Regions from separate parts of the Homo sapiens genome. Here region 2 is linked to region 1. Evidence: promoter capture Hi-C in 16 types of primary human blood cells and fetal thymus (Javierre and others, 2016). All regions are on one chromosome and are shown on one strand. The core of a region is centred on a gene start or on the middle of the fragment in contact, and the rest is flanking DNA. Distances in the headings are between cores, read along the strand shown.

What was found. Contacts are between HindIII fragments. The CHiCAGO score rates a contact against its expected background, and 5 or more counts as called.
Region 2: a fragment that was not itself captured here is called in contact with the fragment with the promoter of GKN1 in region 1 in 1 of 17 cell types (total CD8 T cells); the score reaches 5.2 in total CD8 T cells.

Annotation. Positions count from the first base shown.
Region 1 is chr2:68,972,258-68,977,470 of GRCh38, reverse strand. It overlaps GKN1 (gastrokine 1), which reads right to left and starts at 2,835. Exons shown (of 6, transcript NM_019617.4): 1 at 2,782-2,835. The coding sequence starts at 2,793. RefSeq lists a silencer at 5,113-5,213. The HindIII fragment of the contact is 2,059 bases long and covers 2,214-4,272 here.
Region 2 is chr2:68,119,818-68,125,030 of GRCh38, reverse strand. It overlaps the pseudogene PPIAP64. Among named protein-coding and RNA genes, the nearest start is that of DNAAF10, 35 kb to the left of the region's middle. RefSeq lists enhancers at 2,300-2,594, 3,443-3,522, 3,533-3,702, 3,933-4,092. The HindIII fragment of the contact is 3,787 bases long and covers 394-4,180 here.

The sequences.
Region 1 (5,213 bases), core at 1,586-4,085:
TCCTGTTACATGGCAAAATGATGTCTTCTTTCTTCCTCTATCCAAGCTTATGAAAAGTATTCACTAATTTTACCAATGTGTTCAGTTCTAGTTCAATGTGTTTTTTTCTTCTCTTACCTTGCATTTTTTAACCATAAAGGTTTTAACGATAATGTGAAATTGCTGATTAATTATAAGTAATTATATTAATGTGATATATAGTTTTAGAATTTTTAGTGTAGGCCTTATGAAACGCTGGAAAAATTGATGAAGAAGGGAAGTTGAGAGCCAGGAAAGCTGCTTTCATCTCATTGCCATCCAGTACTGAGGAAGAAAATGTAATTTTCAAGTAGTGATAAATCAAATTATTGAATCAAATCCCTTTTAAAGTAAAACCCAGAATGTACCATCTTGTTTCTCTTCAGTTTAATAAGTGGTATCATAAAGATGACTTTGCTAAGATAATACTTCTGGAAATGTCAGAATAGAGTTTAAAAATTTTTAAGATTGGTCAAAATATTAACTTTATAATAAAACATATACTTGGCAAATGAATTTCCTATAAATTATCATTGGTCAGAATGCTGTTTTGTTGAATTATATTATGTAATATAAACCATAGGTGTTATTAGAAAGTAGAGAACTGCCTTTCTTATTTAGAGCTTTCAAGGACTTGCTATAAATGATTATTTTTAAAATGCTTTATAAATCTTCATGATTTTTCTATTTTGGATAAACTCAGCTATAGTTAATGACAGCATCCTACCTTGAGTAGATATTTGGATTATTTAAATCTAGTAAAAGAAGAAAGTTATACTTCTTCGAGTATTAAGAGATAGGAGTAAAGATTCACTTTTAAGTTATTGAAAATATGTGTATCCTCCTAAATATTAACAAAAATGATTTGGGATAACTGACATGGCTTGGTTATTCAGCTTAAATTTGTACTGTGGCTTATGTTACACAGGTTGTTGATGCTCACCTCTCACTCACTTGTTTCTAATTGTTTTATAAGGTTTAAAATTCTCTCTTTAGAGAAATTCAGAAAATTCACCTGGCACATATTTTGACCTCCTAGGTAACATATTTGTACCAGTATTGAATTTTGGTCAGTGCCCCAATATAAGAAAGTTACTGTTTTAAAATAAAGCAAACTATCTTATTTTCCTTGGAAAAAAAAAGAAGTTTTACAATAAATAGCATAGTATAAATGAATACTATGGTTTGAGATGGCTATAAGTGCTAAAAATCACATCTGAAAATGATTTCAGTTAATTTTCCTATTTAACATGGGATGTTTTCTTCCTAATAGAAATAATCTTTTTATTAAAAAAAACTTTCCAAAGCAATGGATTAGTAGGCAGTTTGGATGCCAATGATGAGAAAGCAAGTATAGAGTGTCTCGCTGGCAAGAGTGATCAGCAGAGGCGATGTCACTAGCAGTGTCCCAGGATACTTGGTTTAATTATTTATCACAGGGTCCCTGACATTGGTTTTCAGAGCACAGAGCTTTATGCAGGGTGCCTCATTCTGGGTACCTAGTCTCATTTCCTTTGCCTGGGACAAAATAGTTTTGAGAACTGCTCTAGAGATTCAAGGTAACTTTTGAAAAAAAATTAAATTTTTCTCCCAATAGCTTAAAAAGGAGTTAAAAATTAGTCTCCTAAAAAGTCAGAGGTAGAAGAAATTTTAGAGAACACCTAGTACAATGCAATCATTTTACAGATAAGGTAACTGAGCTTCAGGGGTTAAGTGAGTTGGCCAAACTTATACCTCTTGTTCACAGCAGAACTAGGAGAGAAATCAAATCTAACCTGTGTCTGGAGCTCCCTCTGACCCTTTTAAACTTTGCTGCTATTAAGAGGACCTAGTTCTAGGTAGTCATTTTACATTTGCAGCCCCATTATAAAGTAGAGTCTGCCGTAACGTTTTCCAGTGTGTAGTATGTTGAAACATGAAAATAGTCATCTGATTCTAGCCCCTTTGCATCGTGTTGTGAGAAACCCGGCACTACTAGTTACTTTGGCAGGGTTTCTCGGTCCACCTCCTCCTAGACTCTCAGGCTTCTGTCTGGAACCACAGGAGAGATGCTGTGGTAGCTTCATGTTTCAGATGCTTTCTTAAATAAATGGCCATGCTAGAGCCCAAGGCAAATCTTTCTTTCTTGGAGACCCATTTTACTGTAACAAATGTGACAAGAAGTCTATCTCAGCCACTTATTTTGATAATAAGCTTTTCATCTTTCCTGAACATGCTCAGGAATTTTGGTAAATAAAAGGAGGAATTCAAGAATGAGGGATGATCGGCACTTTCTAGGGCTTAGGAACTGCTTACCCTGCATGGAGACCGGAATCAGGTGATGCGGAAAGTCATTTTGTTAAAAATAGGTCAGTGTGAGGTGCTCAGACAGCTGTCTAATCTCAGCACAATTATCCTTCTCTATAGAGATGCTTATAAATGCCATGATTATATAAATAGAAAAAAGATTTTTTTTCATTATTTCTTCTTCTAAAAAAAAGGGATACATGTGCAGAACGTGCAGGTTTGTTACATAGGTATATGTGTGCCATGGTGGTTTGCTGCCCCTATTGACCTGTCCTCTAAGTTCCCTCCCCTCACTCTCCACCCCCCAACAGGACCTAGTGTGTGTTGTTCCCCTCTCTGTGTCCATGTGTTTGAAGAGAGAATTTTTTTAAAACAAATTTTCCATGATGGGGCCATAAGAAGCAGACCTCCTAAATCTCAGAATATTGACAGTCTCCAATCATTTGGTGGTAAATTCAAAAGGAAAAATCTACTCACTGTGAACTTCATCTTGTCTTCACGAAAGCAGTGGACAGAGGAGTAGGCAAGCATGGACCTGAATGAGAAGCCTTCTCATATTTGTACTTAACCAGGTTGACTCAAACTAGGTGTTATCAGGTGGGGTCAAAGACTTACCTTCCTCAATTTCTCCTATCTGTGCCATGAGCCAGTGTACCAGGAAACCTTTCAGAATATCTGCATGCTTAGCAAGGAACTTTCACATGGAGTTGACCTGACTCATCACTTGTTGAAGCTGAAGGTATCACAACAAACTCAATATGATTTATGATAACTTCTCACCCAGTCAAAGCTGTGGGCGTGAGTATTTTACACGCTAACATTGCTCAGATTCAGAAAAAGAATAATCCCTAAAATCAAACAAAATCACAGCTGAAAAGCCACGTGTATACTAGGCCTTCCAGATAGCAGCTCCTATAGGAATGTAGGAATGGTTTCCACTTCTTAACTTTTATCTGAGCCCATGGCAATGGTTTTGCTTAGACTAAACATGTTTTGTGAGCAACTCCCACCAAACCTACCCCTTTTCTGCAATGTTGAGCTCACTTAATGATAGCACCATATATCTGGTACAGCCCTTTCTTCTCAGTCTGACATCTACTTAGTTACTGTCATTTTATCTCTGAAATGCCTCTCAACTCTGACCTTGCCCACAGCTCCCCTCACCTGGACTTTCACAACAGTCATGCAATTGATCACTCTGGTCACCAGTTTCTTATATTCCAATGCATTTTCTTCATTAACCCTGAGGTTGTCTTTCTGAAGTGCATAGATAGACATGACTCTATCACGCTTGGAAATTTCGCTGGCAGCCTACAGAAAATTCAAAGTCATTGGAATGGCATCCAGGGTCCTATGTAATAAGATTTCCAAAGGCTTCCCGTCTGCCACTTTATGCTATGTACCTACATTCTAGCTCCACCAGCGTTCCCACCATTCCTGGAAAAGTCAAGATGTGTATGTCTCCATGCCTTTGTACATGCTGTTGTTTTATCTTGGAGGGCCACCCGCTAGCCTCTCGCTTGGTAGACTCCTGTTCATTGTTCAAGGCTCAGCTCAAATATCACTGCCTCCATCACATCTCCCCCATCTGATAGATAGAACTTTCCTAGTGTTTGTTTTTTCCTTCTGGGAACTATAAAAGCAATATCTTTTTATTTGCTTCTAGATAATTTAGTTTTCAGAAGTTACATTAAAATAATAAAAAATATTTTCATCAAAAGCAGAGAGTAGAAACTATCAATTGGGCAGACAAGTAAAAGCTCAAAACAGGTTTGGAGGTGAGTTGGTTTTAATTTTTTTCCTGCTTTTTCCTATACAGTGAAGCTAGTAAATTAAATTTGCCAAGGAGGAAAACTGTATTTCATTAACTACCAATCTATAAATTTTCCCTTTGGAAACTTCGTGCCCACAATTTTCCTCCTGTGCATGGATTGAAACCATAAGATGGGATCACATGGTTATAAAGCTTGATTCGCTATCAACATCTCTTCAAAACTGTTGGTAGGAGTGGATTAGAACAGCTGCAGTATTACTGGATATTTTTTAATGTGTCCACTGATTTCTTTCAAACTCACTCTTTATCCACAGAAGGTAATAAGCCTGGAGTAAGGGGCAGACATGTGTGAAGAGGCCTTCATCTGCTTTAGGAAACTTCATGTCACTGAGAAGTCAATGAGTGGGTAGCATGGTCTCTACGTTTAAACTCAGCCACCAGTAGTCATCTTGGTACACAGGTGCAGTGCCCAGCACACATTTTGCATGTCATACCAAGGACAAGGGCCTGAAGTTCTGCAGTGGACCTGTGAAATGCTGGTCTGGAAGATGTTCCATGACAGACAGACAGACAGATAGATAGATAGATAGATAGATAGATAGATAGATAGATACATACATACATACATACATACATACATACACACGTATACACACATAGATACACACACATACATAGATACATAGGTAGAGTTCCGGGTCCAATAATCCCCCCTTTAGAGACTGACAATTCACATTCACACATCAAATGGGCTAAGAAATTTATAGGGGAAAAATCTCTGTTTCATCCAGGTTCTTCTCATCTTAGTTGACTACAGAACCTGATCGTTTTCCCTTTTTCTTTTATTTATTTGTCCTAACATCTCATAACAACTCTGGGGACCCCTGCCTTAGTGAAAAAATTGTGCCACCTCTGAGGATGCACCCTGGATTTGAAAACCCATTTGGGGAGCTACTGGATGAAGCTGGGAGCCAGGAGACCTAGATTCTATTTTCCCATCTTTCAATGAGTCATTTATTTTTTTGGTTTAGGCCTTAGGTTTCTTGTGGGTAAAAGAGAAGAAATTCCTCCTTTATACAATATTTGTTACTTCAATGGCTCTACAACCAGAAAAACTTCTTTTTCTGTACTTTGT
Region 2 (5,213 bases), core at 1,038-3,537, 850 kb after region 1:
GGGGCACTGGGCCCATGCTGCACTCAGACTTATCAGGACCTGCTAACAGAAGTCCTGTGCATTGTCCAACCAGCTGAGGACTCAGGGCTGCTAGGACAATGTCCTCTATTATTCCACCCTAAGTACCTGCATATTGCCTGGAGTGGTGAGAAATTCTTTACTCATCCATTTTCCCTACTGGGTCTAGGATGGACAAATGGCAGTATGAAAACTGTGAATCTTTGTTACTGTGTAGGGATCTAGAGGCTAAACCCTTGTCCTCAACCCCAGAACCAGAAAAATGGTTATTAATCAGGACAGCACAGTGAAAGCAGATGCAGATTATCCTCACAGTGCATGGCCATTAATGCAGTTGTCCATAGGTTTTGTATATTTTACATCAAACATCAAGCTTGAATGAAGGAACAGGATTTTGACTTTGTGTTTTTAACTTGAAGCATGAGATTCTAGGTAAAAGGGCTGTGACCAAGTACAGCTGCATTTATACAGTCATGGTGGAGGAATTTTATGAAGGATTCTTTAACAACTGAACTTTGCTTATGGTGTTCTGATCCAACTCTATCCCTAAGCCAACTTAAAACCAGATCACTCAGCAATACCCTTTATACAACACTTTTTTATTTTAATTGAGACTGAGTCTTGCTCTGTCACCCAGGAAGAGTGCAGTGGCGTGATCTTGGCTCACTGTAACCTCCGCCTCCTGGGTTCAAGCACTTCTCCCACCTCAGCCTCCCAAGTAGCTGGGATTACAGGCATGTGCCACCACGCGCAGTTAATTTTTTTTATTTTTAGTAGGGATGGGGTTTCGCCATGTTGGCCAGGCTGGTCTCAAACTCCTCACCTCAAGTGATCTGCCTGCCTCGGCCTCCCAAAGTGCTGGGATTATAGGCATGAGCCACTGCCCCTGGCCCCTTAATACAACATTTAATAAATGTTGGGCCAGGCGCAGTGGCTTACGCTTGTAATCCTAGCACTTTGGGAGGCCAGGAGTTCAAGACCAGCCTGGGCAACATAGTGAGACACTGTCTCTACAGAAAATTTTTTTTTTAAATTAGCTGGGTGTGGTAGCACAGCTTATAGTCCCAGCTGCTTGGGAGGCTGAGGCAGGAGGATCACTTGAGCCAAGGAGGTTGAAGCTGCAGTGAGTGGTGACTGTGTTACTGCACTCCAGCCTGGGGAAAATGAGAGACCCTGTCTCAAAAATAAATAAATAAATAAAAGCAAATGTTGGTGGGTGATTAAAATGATAAAATAATGATAAAACAAGTAATTAGGAAAAAAAAGTCCATCTTAACCTCTGGCCTGTTTTTTGAAGGCATTGTTGTTGATTAGGGTTAGGTTCAGCTGCGGGTAACTGAAAACCCAAAATAAAGATTACGCATTATCCAGTGTGCCTGTTCCAGTTGAACCATCACATCCACATTCCAGACATCAGAAAAGTAGGAAAAGTAAGAAAAAGAACATCTTGCACTTTGAAGAGCACTTTTGCTTGTATCCATTGGTGATGATTTGGTCCTGTGTCTCGGTCTCACCTATCACAGTGAGACCGAGAAGCATAAACCTGATTGTGTGCAGTGTTATACCCGGCTACCATTTGGGAGTTCTGGTCCTGAGGAAGTAGGGAAATGGATGTTGGGAGGTGTAACTGGATTCTGCCGCCCTGACAGAGCCGTCAAGCACGGCCTCCCTGGCTGCGTCCTCCCATGAGGTGAAAACTAGGGCGCTACCAATGCGTGCTTCCTTAGGCCAGATCTGGGTCTTGGCACCCAATACTCCCTTTTGGCAATTGTATCTTCTCCATCAGCTCTTGTAAACCAGACACCATGGAATCCCTTGGTTTTTTAAGTTACTTTTATTATCCTTTATGTGCACCAATGCAAGCCCAGCCCAGTACAAAAACAGGAAAGGAAAACTCCCCCTACACACTCAAATTGATCTTCATACTACATTTCTTTTCTTGGGAATTTGTTTGTACTTAATAATAACTTCTTTCGAATCCCAAATACCTTTTCCACTCAGGGGCAGTACAAAGTCACGCGCAGTAGAACATGAACGGCGCAGCTTACCTCATGCGTGTCCATAAACTCACCAAAGGAACTTGAAGGGAGAACAGTGTCTTTATGATCCGGCGTGTCTTGGTACCTGCTTAAAGTCACTTTTGCTTGTGATTTAGCTGGATACACTTTGCATATATACATGAAAAATAATTTTTTTTCTGGGAATGTCTAAGGACTATCCAACACACAAAATGATTTCATCCTTTTCTGAATGAGAACAGCCCGAAAGTTTCTGGCAAATACGCAGGGTTCGTGAGATATGAAATTCAATTATGTCGTGGTACATAAGGTCCGCCTCTTCACGACTTTCAGTGGATTTTCTTCCCCTGGGAAGGAGGCCCCTCAGCCGCACGTTCCGAATCCCAGGCCGTCCTTGTACCTGAAGACCCAGTGGTGCGCTGCCCCCTTGTGGGAGATGTGGGCATTGCAGACCTTTCAACACAAGGAAACGGAATTTGTCTTTCAAATGCAGCTGGAAAAATCTATCCTGTTTAATTCCCAGGAGGCACGCAAGCCAAACTGGACCTTGAGAAAGACATTATCTTACAGAAATGTCTTCCAAAAATGTGATTGTGTTTATGAAGAAAACCCACTTTGTATATAACAACACTGCATAGCATGCCTATGCTTCTTTTTACAGAATGGGTTTTTTAACCAAAAGTTGGATCATTAGCTTTATTATAGATTCAGTCTTACTGGTAGCATCACAAGGCTAACTTCCAAGAGAAAATATTTGGCTTTTTATAAAGTGAGGAATTATTTTGTAAAGTAAATAGTACATGCCTCTATCTCCTACCAACCGTTTATTCTGTAAATTCTGATTTTAACGAAGCATTTCTCAGAGTAAGGACTTCTTTATACCATCACTTAACTTCCTGCAGGAATTCTAGAATTTCTCTCCATCTTCTTTGCACCAGATCCAATGTTTTGTTTTGTTTTGTTTTGTTTGAGACAGAGTTTTGCTCTTGTTGCCCAGGCTGGAGTGCAATGGCACGATCTCAGCTCACTGCAACCTCCGCCTCCTGGGTTCAAGCGATTCTCCTGACTCAGCCTCCCAAGTAGCTGAGATTACAGGCGCCCACCACCACGCCCGGCTAATTTTTGTATTTTTAGTAGAGACGGGGTTTCTCCATGTTGATCAGGCTGGTCTCGAACTCCTGACCTCGAGTGATCCGCCTGCCTCGGCCTCCCAAAGTGCTGGGATTACAGGCATGAACCACCGTGCGCAGCCATATAGCCACTGTTTTTAAAAGCCATTTCTGCACTACCAAGTTAGTGAGTAGCAGCCCTCCACCTGCCCACCTTTGGCGTATGGACCATGCAGCTAAAAGAAGCAACACAAAATAAACTGTGGTCAAAAGAGACTCACAGTTCTCCCTCACACCGGAGGCTGAAGACACTCACACTTCCTCCTTTTAAGTCTTCAACTTTTCTTCTTTATGACACCCAAGGCTTTCATGGCCAGTCAGAACGTCAGTGCCAGAAGAGGCCTTTGAGACCTCTGCACTCAATTTCTGCATTTGAAGACAGACCCAGGCCCTCATCTCCTGACCCCTCATCCAGTGATATTCTCCTGCACCTCCCTGAGGAGTTGCTCAACACTCTGATCCCTCCGAGAAGCCTGGGGTACCTCTAAATTTAACATGCCAGAAACCGAGAACTCTATGCAAACAACACCACTGCTCAGAGGTGATAAGGGTAAGCAAATAAACCACCAGGGAGAAACAGAAGCAGAGTTTTGGCTCTCACCACCCTGTAGATAAACAAGTGTTTGATCTGGGCTGAGCACATCCCTCATCTGGTGAGAGATAACATTCACACTCAGAGGGAGTCTGTGCTTGCAGCCAACAGGTTTGGAACCCTATTGAGCGCTGACCTGGCCGCACACAGACTGAACTAGGGCTCAGGAATGATGGACCAGGGGAAATTTTGTTACCACCCAGGGGGAAAGAGAGGGTCTTCCTGCATTCCTAAGAGCTCACAGGCTAAAGGGCCCTAAGAAAGCAGACACAGAAGACACAGAAGCCTCAGCTAAGGGGGAGTCCTGACGGCCACAGTCCCCACTAATCCACTATGGGCCACTTAGGGCTTGTTGTGAATTTTCCAATCTGTTCCGTAAAGCTTCCTAGGAAGAATGTCAGAAGCCTTATTCTCTTGCTCTCGGTTGAGGCTATGGAAGCTAAAGAAAGCAGTATATGCCAGGCGAGGTGGCTCACACCTGTAATCCCATCACTTTGGGAGGCCAAGGCAGGTGGATCAATTGAGGCCAGAAGTTTGAGACCAGCCTGGCCAACATGGTGAAACCCCATCTCTATTAAAATACAAAAAATTAGCTGCATGTGGTGGCATGCACCTGTAGTCCCAGCTACTTAGGAGGCTGAGGCAGGAGAATCGCTTGAACCTGGGAGGCAGAGGTTGCAGTGAGCTGAGATCACGCCACTGCACTCCAGCCTGGGTGACAGAGTGAGACTCCATCTCCAAAAAAAAAAAAAAAGAAAGAAAGAAAGACAGTGAATGAGGAGTAAACTTGGAGGGAAACCAGTGGCCTGTCTCTAGAGTCTTGATCAGGATCACATTTATAAAGATGATAATGTTGACAATAATAATAATAGCTGCTAATATTTGTGGAGTGCTTACTATATTGTTTCTCTCATGTTGTATTTTTAAATCCCCACCACAAAACTCTGGGGTAAATACTATAGTTTGTTGTTGTTGTTGTTTTGAGATGGAGTCACTCTGTTGCCCAGGCTGGAGTGCACTGGCATGATCTCGGCTCACTGCAACCTCCACCACCCAGGTTCAAGCGATTCTCCTGCCTCAGCCTCCCGAGTAGCTGGGATTACAGGCGTGAGCCACCATGTCTGGCTAATTTTTGTACTTTTAGTAGACATGGGGTTTCACCATGTTGGCCAGGCTGGTCTTGAACTCCTAACCTCAGGTGATCCACATGCCTTGGCCTCCCAAAGTGCTGGGATTACAGGCGTGATAATAAACTCTTAACCTCACCATTTTTGTATATAAGTGGAGGTCGTCAGAGCACTTTTTTCATCCATTTTGCTACTTGGACTTAAGGATGAAAGTCCTATTACAAACTGTTGTCACAGTGAATGTTGGCATTGGGAAGGGTGCTGGGGAGAACAGGGAAAGAGCACAGGA